5 separate regions of the Homo sapiens genome follow, and all the other regions are linked to region 4. The links are contacts of gene promoters, found by promoter capture Hi-C in blood cells and fetal thymus (Javierre and others, 2016). All regions are on one chromosome and are shown on one strand. Each heading gives the region's core, a stretch centred on a gene start or on the middle of the fragment in contact. The rest is flanking DNA. Distances are from core to core; before and after follow the strand shown. Region 1 has its middle 110 kb from the start of LINC03083. Region 2 has its middle 46 kb from the start of LINC01427. Region 3 has its middle 24 kb from the start of LINC01427. Region 4 holds the start of PAX1 (paired box 1). Region 5 has its middle 13 kb from the start of LINC01427.

Region 1 (2,700 bases), core at 198-2,697, 840 kb before region 4:
TGGGATCTAGCCCCTCAACAGCTGTTAGCAAAAACTAAGCCAGCAGGGGGCGCACAAGCACAGCAATGCTTGCAATACTGCCATTGGCCATGATTCTCTCCTGCCTCTGCAAGATAGAAATTAGGAAGGGAATGACTGTGGCGTTAGGCTGTACATGGACTTAAAGAGGCATGTAGAATCCTAAAAAGCAACATGAATTCTTTTCACTGTTGGAATGGAAGGCAATTTATACAGCATTTCTTAATTGCATTACATAGCATCTCTTAATTGAAATCAACTAAAGCTTCCTTAACTATTATTTTTAAAATTTAGTAGGGCAATTAAAAAAAAGAAAGTTATTATAGCTCTCAGCCATAACAACTCAAATAGCACATATTTGGGAGAAATGATAAAGAAAAAACTGGAAATACTGGATTCCTTTCTCAAAGCTCAAAAAGACAATGAAAGGGATGAAGGCAGAAATGACACTTAAGCAATAAACACATTCAAGTAAACATCAGTTTCTGAACACACTCCATTTCCATTGGCATCTGAGCATAGATCTTAATTCAAGAGGTTTAACCTGCTTCAGAGAAAATGAATAAAAGAGAATGTAGCACAATGCTTGAAGATCTTCACATTTATAGACTGGTGAACTCTCTCACCCACACACTGTAATTTGGGTGGCGTTCCTTCAAAACTATTAAGGCATCTTCATTGGAGCTGGGGTAATTCTAAGCAACACTAATGGTGTGCTCGATGTTACTGTAAGTGAGATAAATGATAGCAAACTTGTATGAGCAGGTGCATCTAATAACAGAGGCGTAGAAGCATAATACAGCAAGAAAGAAATGTTCAAATGCAGAAAATAAGAGCTCACGGAATCACTATGAGTGTGTTAGTGTGCATTACGGAGTGAACGATGTGTGTGTCTGACCACTTTGTCCACATCTCTATCTCTGGTGCACCCAACTTCTTTGAAAAATCAGAGTCAAAACCAGTGAGAGGAAGCCCTCATGTGTTTTCGGTCTCCACTTCCAGAAAACCTCAAGACATTTTTATTGGAGGAATAAAGAAAAAGCCCTTGAATTACAGAGTACTCAATGGGTCTAGGAGAATGAGTCTCTAATACTCACTCACATTCAAGGGAAATGACACATTTATCCATTTCAGGCTCAACTCTTTTAGACTGAAGAAAATCTAAAACAAATAGATATGGCTTACAGCATTGCCCATCTAATTAGTTTTCTTCCTGCACCAAAGGTGGTTGATGTTATGTGTTTTCTCCATATCCCGTGAAAGAAAGCTCTGGAGAACTTAGCTCACTTCCTCTAGAGAGAGTTCTTGAAGAGGAGGGAAGAGATGGAGCTGGCAAAATTTGGGCAAATATTCTTAGTCTTTGGCATAGAAATATATTGAGGAGTGAAAAGAAGCACTAAAAAAAAAAGACACCATCTTTTGGCCTCTAGTCCTAAGAATTTTAAGATTGTACTTTTTTTTTTTTTTAGATGAAGTCTCTCTCTATAGCCCAGGCTGGAGTACAGTGGTGCGATCTCCACTCACTGCAAACTCTGCCTCCCAGATTGAAGTGATTCTCCTGCCTCAGCCTCCTGAGCAGCTGGGATTACAGGTGTGCACCACCACGCCAGGCTAATTTTTGCATTTTTAGTAGAGAGAGGGTTTTGCCATGTTGGCCAGACTGGTCTCAAACTCCTGGCTTGAAGTGGTCCATCCGCCTTGTCCTCCTGAAGTGCTGGGATTACAGGTGTGAGCCACCATGCCTGGCCAGATTGTACCTTTAAATGACTCAATAGAAATGAGTTTCAGTAAGACATCATTCTGTGTGGGAAGCCACTTGCCTAGTTCTCTCAGAACTCCAGAACCCTGGCTGTAATAACTGGGCAAGTTTCATTCAACCGTGGTGGCCACACACAGTCCCTTTGTGTAAGGTTTGTGAATTTGAAATCTTTAGAAGATAACAAAAGAACTTGTAAATGATTGGACCCACACCCAGAGAGAGAGAGACCTGTATACATTCTTCCATGCAGAAAATAAACTGGAAATCTAACGCACAAAAATATTTTTGAAACCACATTATCGAGGTATGATTGACTTGTATAAAGCTGTGTGTAATTAATGTGTACAACTTGATGAGTTTGGGGAGAAGCAGACACCAGTGAAATCATCACTACCATCAAGGCCATAGACATCCATCCCTTCCCAAAGTTTCTTCCCATCTCCTCTATTATAATAATTATTAGTGTGTGTGGTAAGAACACTTTAAAAGATTTGACATAGACTATTAGTTCCTCCTCAGAAAGGAGTTGATGGGATTTCAGAGGTGGCGTGGCTTGGAGTTGCTCTTCTCTTGATGTCCCCTGAGGGCCTGCACTGATCTTGGTCCTCCTGCCAGTGCTCCCAGCCCCTTATGGACAACTGGCTTTCTGCACCGTTTGAAATGCTAGGCATGGCTGTCCCACACGGTGCTTGCTTTCTCGTGCCTTCTAACCTGGGCACTGAGCTTTCATCTGTGTTCACTGGCTGGCTCCGTAGCATTTCCTGCCACACCTCCATGGAGGTATGGGCATTTTGCATTCCATAAAGGGGAAAAGAGCTTCTTCCTGATCAGAGTTTAAGCTTAAAATGGTTTTCTTCCTCCTGAAACCACAACGTTTCCTAACAACATTAAAATTCCCCTCTGCTCAGCCCCCTACTGGACCA
Region 2 (2,700 bases), core at 182-2,681, 530 kb after region 4:
CCTCAGCCTGAGTAACAGACATGATTTGGATTCTGTTTGCTAATTGATTTAGTTACATCCATTATGAAAATGGAGAGCTCTCAGCAAGAAGCTCACCTGGAACTACAGTAAACAGCACTGCTTGCTCTGGGCCCTCCTTTCTGCTCGGAGCGGGACTTGCCTGTAATTACCTCCAATGTGGAAAGAAAAAGAACTTTCACATCCTGACTCTAAAATTCTCTCTTCGCCCCGTGTGTCAGTACATAAACTTTAATTCAGACATTGGCAGTACTGTCAGCAGCTCATATGTCATCAGCGGAGGGCTCGGAGGCTCCGCGTGCCAGGGAGCAGGCGGCTTCTATTGCCTTCCTGGAGGTCGGGATCCCCCTGGTTTGCTGAAACCTCAAAGGCAAGTCTTTCTCGAGGGCGAGAACAGAACCTGAAAGACAGGACTTTGCCTCTGGTCTCTGTTCAGTGGCTGAGCAGTCTAGCCCAGGTGTCCCACTCCTAGTGGGACGCAGATGTCTCTTTGCACACCTGGGAAAGTGTGTAACCAAGACCACGTGAGGCCCGGGGCTGGATCTCTCAGGGACCCTGCTGACAGCCCACGAGCCCAGGGGGTCGACTTGGGAGAAACCACAGAATATTACCCTTGCTCTGCATGGATACAGGAGCTAACAACAAATAGAAGTGCAGATAGGAAAACTCCCTTCCCATCCTCCTTGGGCAGTAGCCTCTCCTAGCCTACCTCTCCCCATAAGCTATCTGCTGGTGTCTCCTGGGTTGCCTGAGGTAGCATTTAGAGGGGTTGGCAAATGCCACCATGAAGAGCACAAGCCCGTTCTCCATAGGAGCTGGCCTCTTAGGCCTGTTTTCTCCTATCTCTCGCTTTCGCTTTTTGAAATGTGATTCTCCCTGGTAGGGAAAGGCAAGAAAAACATCCAATGCTCATAAAAGTTAAAGTTCAGCACAAGCTGTTAATGAATTGAATTTGCTTCACACATACATTTATAAACTCAAAACAGACCTGGCATGTCCTTACTTAACTTGTCAATGGGCAATGGGATGGGAAGCCTGAACTCCAGATGGACATGCGTAGGCCATACAGGAGCTGAAGAAAGCATCCAACAAAACCATCTGAAAAGGTTTTTCAACATAAGATGGTATATAGCTAGTGGAAAATGATGCTGAATAAAAAAACAGAATTATTTTTAAGGTTTTGAAAAGTCTCTTAGATATGAAACAGCCTTGGTTTGGTGCTATATAGTTTATGAGCCTGAAAATGAAATTACAGGACATAAAATATAAAAAAAACTAATCAATATCACATAACCAGGAAGCTTGGAAATTTAAAGGACTTCTCTTGTGCTGACATTTGAGGCCACAAATACCAGAATACGGCATATGCAGAGGAAGTCGGTGTTCATATTATGCTCAGGTTACCTTGGCCAATGGGAGCATTTCTTCCATCAGCTCAATTGTGAGGCCTGGCATCCAAGACAAGTATTGATTTCTGCTCCTTTCCCTGCTCCTCCTCCTTCCCCTTCCTCTTTTTAATAGCAGGTAAGCTTACTGTTAAATGATCAATTCCTTCATCATGTGAAACTTGTGGATGCTTCCTAGTCTTAAACATGAACAGTAAATTATTAAGAGACATTATGTTCTCTGAAGACACCGACAGAAAAAAATTCTCCGTTTCCTTCATTACAGGAGATAGCTTGAACCTCTACCTATCTGTCCCTCTCCACACTCCTAGGTCTCAGGATAGCTTTTGTAGGTTGGGACTTTGGTGAAAAGGCTTGGCAGCAAATTTCAACTATCACAGTATGACCTTAGACACGTCGCTCCCTAAACCTCAGTTTTCTCAACTAAAAGTGGAGGTAGTTCTCTACTCAAATATTAAACCCTTAGAGACACCTAGCCTAGCCACTCCATCAGTAATAGCCTATCTCCCCTCTTTAAAAAAAAAAATTCTTTATCTCTTTTATGCTTACCATTGACTTCTTTCTTTCTTTTCTTTCTTTCCTTCTTTCTTTCTTTCTTCCTTTCTTTATTCTTTCTTCTGTCGCTCTTTCCCTTCCTTCCTTCCCTCCCTCTGTCCTTTCTTCCGTCCGTCCTTCCTTTCTTTTTTTCTTTCTTTCTTTCTTTCTTTCTTTCTTTCTTTCTTTCTTTCTTTCTTTCTTTCTTTCTCTCTCTCTCTCTTTCTCTCTCTCTCTCTCTTTCTTTCTTTCTCTCTCTTTCTCACTTTCTTTCTTTTTGAGATGGAGTTTCACTCTTGTTGCCCAGGCTGGAGTGCAATGGCATGATCTCTCAGCTCACTGCTACCTCTGCCTCCCAGGTTCAAGCAATTCTCCTGCCTCAGCATCTCAAGTAGCTGGGATTACAGCCATGCACCAGCACGGCCGGCTAATTTTTCACTTTTAGTAGAGACGGGGTTTCACCATATTGGTCAGGCTGGTCTCAAACTCCTGACCTCAGGTGATCCGCCTGCCTCAGCCTCCCAAAGTGCTGGGATTACAGGCATGAGCCAACGTGCCCAGCCATTATACTGTATTTTTGTTTGTTGATTTGTTAACAATAGAAGTTAAACCCTGTGAGTGTTGTGTTCTCACTCTTGGAACAAGGCCTGGCCCCAAATAGTCCTTAGTAAGAGCCAGCTTAATGAATGAATAGTAACTCAATCAATAACCATGTTTTGATGAAAGGAGGCCAGGATCACTG
Region 3 (2,700 bases), core at 31-2,530, 550 kb after region 4:
TTATTTCCAAAATTCCCCCAATGGGTTTTCTATTATTTGTAGTCAAGAGAATCCTGACCACAAATCACAATACTAAATATTTTTGAAATCCAAAAAGATATAAGGAGAGTGTGAGTTTAATAATTATTAACAGCTGGTCTGAGGCTTGAGACTGTGAAAGTAATAAAGTCATGAGAGGATTTCCCTTGAAGTACGTCAGTGCGAGTGGCTCACATTGTCATTCATGCTTTGTCGTCACCCTGTGAGGATGTGTATCATTAGAAGGATGAGGCTACCACGAAAACATTTTTTGAATAAACCATCTGAAATCGCCTTCAGCTTCAACAATGACTTTTCTCCATAATATAAGAAAGGTGATTGTGCAACACTTATCGCAGCTCTCACAGCATTCCTAGGATATGGGGATGTTTTCTCCTATTTTGCAGATAAATAAATACATAAATAAATAAATAAATAAATAAATAAATAAAAAGCTTGACTTGGAGAACTAATTTGCTTCAAATCACACAGCTAGTCAGGGACAAAGAAAAGCCTTGGACTCAATTCTTCTGGGTTTTAAGCAAAGCATTTTTTCTGTGATACCTTGCCCTTGTTCCTGTCTGTTTGCTAGGCAAGGATATTGGTTTCATTGCATTTAAAGGTTTTGAAAGTGCTTAATGAGTTATTTTATCATTTTGGAAAGGAAGTGTTAAGAAAGACATTATTTAACTTACTTTTATTCATATTTTTATATTGTGTAAAAATTGCCAGAAGACATAGAAGCAGAACATTTTGCCTTAATAGTGTCTTAAAGATCCCTAGCTGGTAGCCCCCAAAAGAAGTCTGCATTGAGACATGGTTTTACTGAACATCTGGAAATGTGCACATTCAAATACAGGAATAAGAACTTCATTTTGTAACAAAAACAATAATTATATAACACTTCTTAATATTAGCTATCACTTCCTAATATTTTCACTGTCACACTGAGCTAAATTTTAATATGAATTATCTCACTCAATCCTTAAACCAATCTGTATAAGGCAGGCAACATAACTTTTCCAAAGTTGTACAGGGAACAAGAAACAAAACTAGGACCCAAATCAAGGATTCTCTGATGATCTCCATGCTTGTAATGTTCTCTTTCTTTTTCCCCCACCAATATGTGGACCACGGTCTTCTTAACAAAATAGCTGCAATATGTGGTATTAATCATTATGTACACACACAGACACATACACAAATACAAAGGAGATTTGCTATTAACTTAGATTGTACAATTAAAAACCAAAAGCCAGTCATTACTGTATGACTTAAACCAGAACCTGTGTTCTATTCCAATATCAGGTAAATATGTTATTACCGAACTAACAATGTAAGAAAAAAATATAGCTTCAATGATGAAGCAATACCACATGTTAGAAATATATCAACTTACCAAAGTGAATGCTTGAAATTGATGCAAAAGCAGAGGTCAAGTGCTAACAGTTATACTTCTTGACCTGTGCAGTGTTTTCCTTTCAAGATGTGTGGCACCCAAAGCAATGGAATGACTCAAAAATATTGTAAGTTTCTGGGAGCCACATCTGTGCAAAAATGGGACCAATTCAGTCATACAACTGGATAATATGTTGAGCAAATCCAGTGAAACCCCGTTATGTCACCATGTATAGCATCCCAAAATACAGGCCATTCCTGACTCTCAAGTTTGAATGTTGCGAGTTTGCAGACAAAGACAAAGATAACGTCTCTGGGAACATGTTCTGAACACTGCCCAGGGCCTGTAGAGCAGACAATCTCATTAAGTGAGGCTGCTCATGGTTTGAAGATGAGCATTGGTCTTGCTGCCCTCTAAATGAAGACATAGGACCCTCAGTTGCATCCTTATAAGTGGGCCAGGTACAGTGAGAGGGAGACATGGCTTACGGAATTACAGACATATTACAGAAGAAATAGAAAACTTTATAAGCATGAGGCTGTCATAGAACCTTGGATTTTGGTAACAGAGGCAGAGAGCTTCATTTTTGAAAAAAGTCTCTGAGGCAGTCATCATGAAAAAGCAGCCCTTTGAGTACAAAGATAAATGTTCACTTGGGAGATGTCACCTTCAAGCTTTATTTCTGATACTAGTACAGGGAGTGATCCTGTCACAAAATAGAGCTGCCCCTTGTAGTGCCCGAGGTCTGAATGGCCTTGAAACTGGCCTGCCTTGCAAGAGCAATTGGCCAACTCTCAAGGGAGGCAAACATCTGTACATATTTTTTGATGATCATGTATCTCACTAATAAAAAAATTACTAATCAAAGAGGAAGGTGTTTGCAGACTACTTATATGAAAAAAGACCTGAAGTATATCAATGTTATTATCATGATTAACCTAATAGAGAACTCGTCTCTTACCTAAAAAATGTACTCTATTTCTCACAAAATTCTTAAATTGGTGATGTACATGAGTGCTTCTACAGGGTATTAGATTTAGCTGTTTCAGCTGTTGAGTTGGTTGACATTTGTATTGCTTACTGTTGTCTTGGTCTCTCTGTTTATGTGCAGACAGTCTAACAGTAAAACAAACAAACAGACAAAACCAAAACCAAAATTTCAAGAGTGGAAAGGAGTTTTTCCCCAGATTGACATTCAAATTCATCTGACCACGAGTTTTGGGAGGCATGACATATGATGCAGTGTGAGTATTCTATTCTTGAAACTAGGAAGTAAGGTGCAC
Region 4 (2,700 bases), core at 141-2,640:
CTCTGGGTGGCTAAGGAGAGCTAGACCCTTGGGGTGGGCAGGAGGGAGGGGAAGAGGGTTCTCTCCTCCAGGGGAGCGCTGGGAGTCTCAGAAACCTCGGCTGTTCCTACTCTCTCCCCTATGCCCTCTTCCTGGTCTAGCACATTCAGCCCAATGCCTTTGGTGCTTACTGGGCTCAACCTCAGAGCTCTCAGATCCTGACCCCCTCAAATCAGTTCATGTTCAAAACCACGAGTTTCCTCCTCTTGGCCCTCACCGCATGGCTCCCGGACACAGTTAGCTGCACAGGTTGGGGAGTTCAGAACTGCTTTGGTGCAGGGTAGAAACAGAGAAATTGTTGATGTTCAATCTCAGGGGTGAATAATTCAGGGCTGCGCAAAACCTCATTTAAATGAAGGAGAAATGACCATTCTGTGGTTTAACAGAGACTTCCTGAAGCTGCAGGTGCTGGGAGAAAGACGAGGCCAGGCCACCTGGGATAGAGTGGTGCGAGATTCCACCGCCAGGGAGAAAGGAACTTGTCCTTCAGACCTAGAGCTGGAGCTATGCATTTGGCCTCCCGCCGGTCGCGCTTGGGGACAGGAGGGCGCCGGATCTATGCGCCCCTTAGCAGCAGATCGGGATCCTTTTGCCTCCTGCCCCTTCTGTCACTGCTTGGAGAGGGATGAGTTCTGGTGGCTGGGCCTGGCTGTAGGAGACAGGATTTGGACCGTGCCCCTCTCGCATCACCGAAATCACCCCCACTATTCCAAGAGTGGTTGGCTATTAAACGTGAAGATTTCCTGAGAGAAGGATTGAGGACCTGGCCAGGAATGGGACACAAGTTCCGCCTTGTGTCTTCCTGACAGGAGCCCTGCACCGCGCTGGACGCTCACCTTGACACTCCCAGCCAGCTGGGGTACTGATCCCACCCTTCCCCGGCCGCTGCCCCGGGAGTGGGGAGGTAGAGAGAGCCACACCCGAAACACCTTTCCACGATAAACTTTTATTCTCTATCTTATTATTAATGGTGGCGGAAATAAAACTAAAACCAAAACGAAAACGAGTACTAGTACTAACACACTAATCAATTTGAGATGACTTCCCCCTCATTCCCAAAGCTAGAGGAGGAAGGGGGCTGAAAGGGGCTCAGAGCAGTGGAAGGTCCCAGGCCCAGCTGGGGTTGGGACGTGTGTGTGTGTGTGTGTGTGTGTGTGTGTGTGTGTGTGTGTGTAGAGGGGTGGGTTCCGGGGGGGTGGTGGAAGAGGGCCGAGGGGGGAGGATAGAAGGAGGGGGTAGAGTTTCAGGGCGGGGAGGGGGGCGCTGGGGCGCAGTGACGGGAACCAATGAGCTGCCAACTCGCGCGTCTCCGGCGTGACTGCCGAGATTGACGTGGAGGACACGTCAAATTGATTCCCGCACGCTGCAGCCTCCCGGTCAGACGAATTTCTCCCAATCGGATGAAGTTCACCCTGGGCCTGGGGTCGCGGGCGTGGAGAGTGTCCTGGGAGGGGGCAGCAGCGGCGGCGGCAGGCCCTGGAGCGGGCGGCAGCGCGCTCCGCTGCCGCGCACAGCGCGTCTCCAGCCCGCGGCTGGGCCGCCGCGGCTCTCGGCTCTCGGGCGCCCTCCCTCTATGCCTCTCACGCGGCGGCGGCGGCGCCCAAGCTCTCCCGGACTGCGCCGGGCCCAGCCCCGGCCACCCCGGCCACCCCGGCGCCAGGCAGCTGGCCGGCCCGCTCGCTATGGGTAAGGGGCGGGCGACAGGCAGGGCTCGGGAGGGCTGATGAGGTGGGTCGGGTCCGCCTGCCTCCCTTCCCTCTCGTCCGCTTTCCCTGGGCGACCCAGTCCTGGGTCCTGGAGAAGCTGCATTCTCCTCTGATCCCCAGCCTTCAGGGGGCAGTTGAGCAAGTCTGGGAAGGGAGTGTTCCAAGTAGACGCGCTAAAAGTCGCGAAAGGGCACGGAGGGCTACAATGCGCCGCGCTCCACTCCGCGGCTCCTCTGCGCCCTTGCCCACTCCAAGCCAGACCCAGGCGGTTTGCCCTTGGACTCCGAGCTGTCTGGGGACCCACAGGTCACCTTTGGAAGTGCGCCTGGGTGCAGTCCCTCGCTCCGCGTGGGGACCCTTGGCTAACCCGCCGGGTGTTTTCTCCCCCTCCGGCTCACTCTTGTCTGGCGCATCCGCAGAGCAGACGTATGGCGAGGTGAACCAGCTGGGCGGTGTGTTCGTCAACGGCCGCCCCCTGCCCAACGCCATCCGCTTGCGCATTGTGGAGCTGGCGCAGCTGGGCATCCGACCCTGTGACATCAGTCGGCAGCTCCGCGTATCCCACGGCTGCGTGAGCAAGATCCTGGCGCGCTACAACGAGACCGGCTCCATTCTGCCCGGGGCCATCGGGGGGAGCAAGCCCCGCGTCACCACTCCCAACGTGGTCAAGCACATCCGGGACTACAAGCAAGGAGACCCTGGCATCTTTGCCTGGGAGATCCGCGACCGGCTGCTGGCCGACGGCGTCTGTGACAAGTACAATGTGCCTTCGGTGAGCTCCATCAGCCGCATCCTGCGCAACAAGATCGGCAGCCTGGCGCAGCCCGGACCGTACGAGGCAAGTAAGCAGCCGCCGTCGCAGCCTACGCTGCCCTACAACCACATCTACCAGTACCCCTACCCCAGTCCCGTGTCGCCCACGGGCGCCAAGATGGGCAGCCACCCCGGGGTCCCG
Region 5 (2,700 bases), core at 180-2,679, 590 kb after region 4:
CCTTCATTCACTAAAAATGAATTTCAATTAACCTAAATTTAAATGGCCACAGGTGACTAGTGGCTATCCTATTGGAGAATGCTTCTTGAAAGTATGATTTTAGGGATTAAAGGGAATTCATCTTTGTATCTAAAGTGTCCGGCACAGAACAGTCCTCCATCCATCTTGGTTCCCCAGCCCTGAAGTGAGATCCTGGTGACATAAGCCAGGTCTCTATATCCAATGCTCATTTAAGATTGCCTCTTCAACAGGAGCGTGTTTGGCTCTAGTGTAGCTTGCCACCAGCAGTCCCCATTGGTAGTGATGGCATTCTTGGCATCCTTCCAGTGCCATGATTGACTTAGCCAGTAAAAGACAAAATTCAGATGGTAGCCACTAAACAGTATGAAATATCTCAGTTTTAACCTAAAGTGGAAGCAATAACAGTCTCCAAGGCTGCAGAAGCAGGGCTTAGCAGACGAACCAAAAGACAAGAAGAAAAGTCCTGTTAAAAGAATAACAATCAATAGCTGAAAGCTATTAAGTTCACTCTTCTAGTTCAAAGGGATTTGAAATGGCAATTTGTCAGGCAACTGTTGTCACTTTAGATGCCCCCATTGCTTTCTTTGAAGCCCTTGATTGACTACAGGAGGTTACACCAGATTGTTCTAAGGACAGGATTTCCACAGTTGAGCATACTTATATCCAAGTAATTATGACTCTTCTGAATTTAATCAACACAAGGCAAAAGAGAGCTAGTTTGAGAAAATATGCATGTGCTCTGCAAAGTCCAGGCGATGGCTTCGGTGGCTATGCCCAAAGCCAGACAACCAGCTGGATGGTTTCAGTCACTTAATTGTGCCGATCAGATTCTCCAGCAAGTTTCCCTGCTGGCCAGGGAAAGAGGGAGAATCATAGAGTGAGGACTTTCTCCATTCTGCTTGTTCTGTTCAACAATGAAACAGACTTCCGCTTGAGATGGGTTGTTTCTAGGAAAGAACAGCCAATGAGAAATAAGCAACCTAACACATTCACACAGTGTTGCCTCTTCAGCTAGCAGAGGTGGAGCTGGGAGGACATTTTCGCCAATTGTTTTGGAAAACAGATGCAGAGGCAAGTGTACCCCTGTGAAGCAATGGCTGAATGTCTTTAGGGGAGATGGGTGCAAAGGGGAATTAGCAAGTGAGAAAGAGGACTGAGAACTGTGGCAGCTACTGGGCCTTAAGTCAGACTTTCTTCTAGAAATGTGCAGAATGGACACAGAATGTGAGAAGCCCTCTGAAGCATGTTTGCCTTAGGAACAACTAATTGCAAGTTAATTTGCTACTTTTTTGTGGAGTTTTCAGGAACCTGTTCAGCAAGAATGGGAAGTGTGTTCCTGGGTGTTTGCAGAGTGGGGCATGCATGGTGACATCAGCCAGAGCTGTGGCCCCGTCCTAGGCATCCAAGAGGAAGGTCAAAACAGAAGGTGTAAAGGGATAGAAGCTGTTGTCAGAGTCCAACCTCTTCCTAAACTTCTAAGCCCTCTATGACTCAGGAAAGAATGTGTCCTAGAGAGAAGGGGGCAGAGTGACACAGATGGTAAAGATGGGAGCTAACGGGCTCTCAGGAGAGAAAAAGCAAGGTGGACTCCTGCCCAGCAGATATGTGCCAGATGTCCCTGCTATGCAGCCTTGGGGACACATCCATGCCAAATAACTAAAGAGAAGCTATGACAGGAAAAACAAAAACACACAACATGCTATCTACATACAACATGTGGGGCTGGGGCCAGGAGTGAGGTCAGGAAGAGCACCCCACCAAGGCAGGATGAACAGATGGAAGGAAGGTCAAGCCAGGAGAGATCTGAAAAGAAAGGATGGGAGGAATCCACTTCTATTTTTTTTTTCTTTTGAGACAGAGTATCGCTCTGTCGCTCAGGCTCGAGTGCAGTGGAGTGATCTCTGCTCACTGCAAGCTCTACCTCCCGGGTTCATGCCATTCTCGTGCTTCAGCCTCCCGAGTAGCTGGGACTACAGGGGCCCGCCACCACGCTTGGCTAATTTTTTTTTTTTTTTTTGTATTTTTAGTAGAGACGGGGTTTCACCGTGTTAGCCAGGATGGTCTGGATCTCCTGACCTTGTGATCCGCCCGCCTCGGCCTCCTAAAGTGCTGGGATTACAGACGTGAGCCGCCCCGCCCGGCGGAATCCACTTCTAGCTGTTTGGCAGGGACTGTCCCGGGCACAGGACGCCAGGAGACAACGTGTGTGGGCAAAAGTACATACACTCACAGTAGGGGTCCAAGGCCAAAACCCACCAGGGCATTTGCTGTTCAGTCTGTGATGTGTGATTGTTGACCACACAGCAGGGAGCATGTTCTGACAGCGCCACCCCACCCAGGCCATGTGAGCAATGTTAGCCCTGCATTTATGCTGATGGATCTTTCTTATGGGACTCAAACGGCATTCATTCTCTCTGAACAAATTAAGAAGAAACTAATCCCAACCTAAGATTCTTTATAAATTACTCAGACAAAAGAAAATGAATCACTATATGCATAAGCAGCAGATGTTATGTGACCTCAAAATTAATGCCTATTAGCAGGCCAAAAAGGTATGCAGAAGAAGAGAGGTAAGATTTCCATGCTGACAGGTTTGTTGGTCTAAATTCATTCTGGAAAAATTGTGTCTTTCAAGTAAGAAAGCACGGTAGGCAACATCTTTCCTAGAGTCTTCATCAT

What was found. Contacts are between HindIII fragments. The CHiCAGO score rates a contact against its expected background, and 5 or more counts as called.
Region 1: a fragment that was not itself captured here is called in contact with the fragment with the promoter of PAX1 in region 4 in 1 of 17 cell types (M2 macrophages); the score reaches 5.4 in M2 macrophages.
Region 2: a contact is called between a fragment that was not itself captured here and the fragment with the promoter of PAX1 in region 4, in 1 of 17 cell types (endothelial precursors). The highest score is 5.7, in endothelial precursors.
Region 3: a contact is called between a fragment that was not itself captured here and the fragment with the promoter of PAX1 in region 4, in 1 of 17 cell types (endothelial precursors). The highest score is 5.1, in endothelial precursors.
Region 5: a fragment that was not itself captured here is called in contact with the fragment with the promoter of PAX1 in region 4 in 2 of 17 cell types (M2 macrophages and endothelial precursors); the score reaches 6.1 in M2 macrophages.

What each region holds. Positions count from the first base shown.
Region 1 is chr20:20,860,335-20,863,034 of GRCh38, forward strand. No RefSeq gene overlaps it. Among named protein-coding and RNA genes, the nearest start is that of LINC03083, 110 kb to the right of the region's middle. The HindIII fragment of the contact is 2,333 bases long and covers 282-2,614 here.
Region 2 is chr20:22,235,936-22,238,635 of GRCh38, forward strand. No RefSeq gene overlaps it. Among named protein-coding and RNA genes, the nearest start is that of LINC01427, 46 kb to the right of the region's middle. The HindIII fragment of the contact is 228 bases long and covers 1,318-1,545 here.
Region 3 is chr20:22,257,746-22,260,445 of GRCh38, forward strand. No RefSeq gene overlaps it. Among named protein-coding and RNA genes, the nearest start is that of LINC01427, 24 kb to the right of the region's middle. The HindIII fragment of the contact is 1,618 bases long and covers 472-2,089 here.
Region 4 is chr20:21,704,274-21,706,973 of GRCh38, forward strand. PAX1 (paired box 1) reads left to right here and starts at 1,391. Exons shown (of 5, transcript NM_001257096.2): 1 at 1,391-1,725; 2 at 2,165-2,700. The coding sequence starts at 1,440. The HindIII fragment of the contact is 9,231 bases long and covers 1-2,700 here.
Region 5 is chr20:22,294,887-22,297,586 of GRCh38, forward strand. No RefSeq gene overlaps it. Among named protein-coding and RNA genes, the nearest start is that of LINC01427, 13 kb to the left of the region's middle. The HindIII fragment of the contact is 2,950 bases long and covers 1-2,700 here.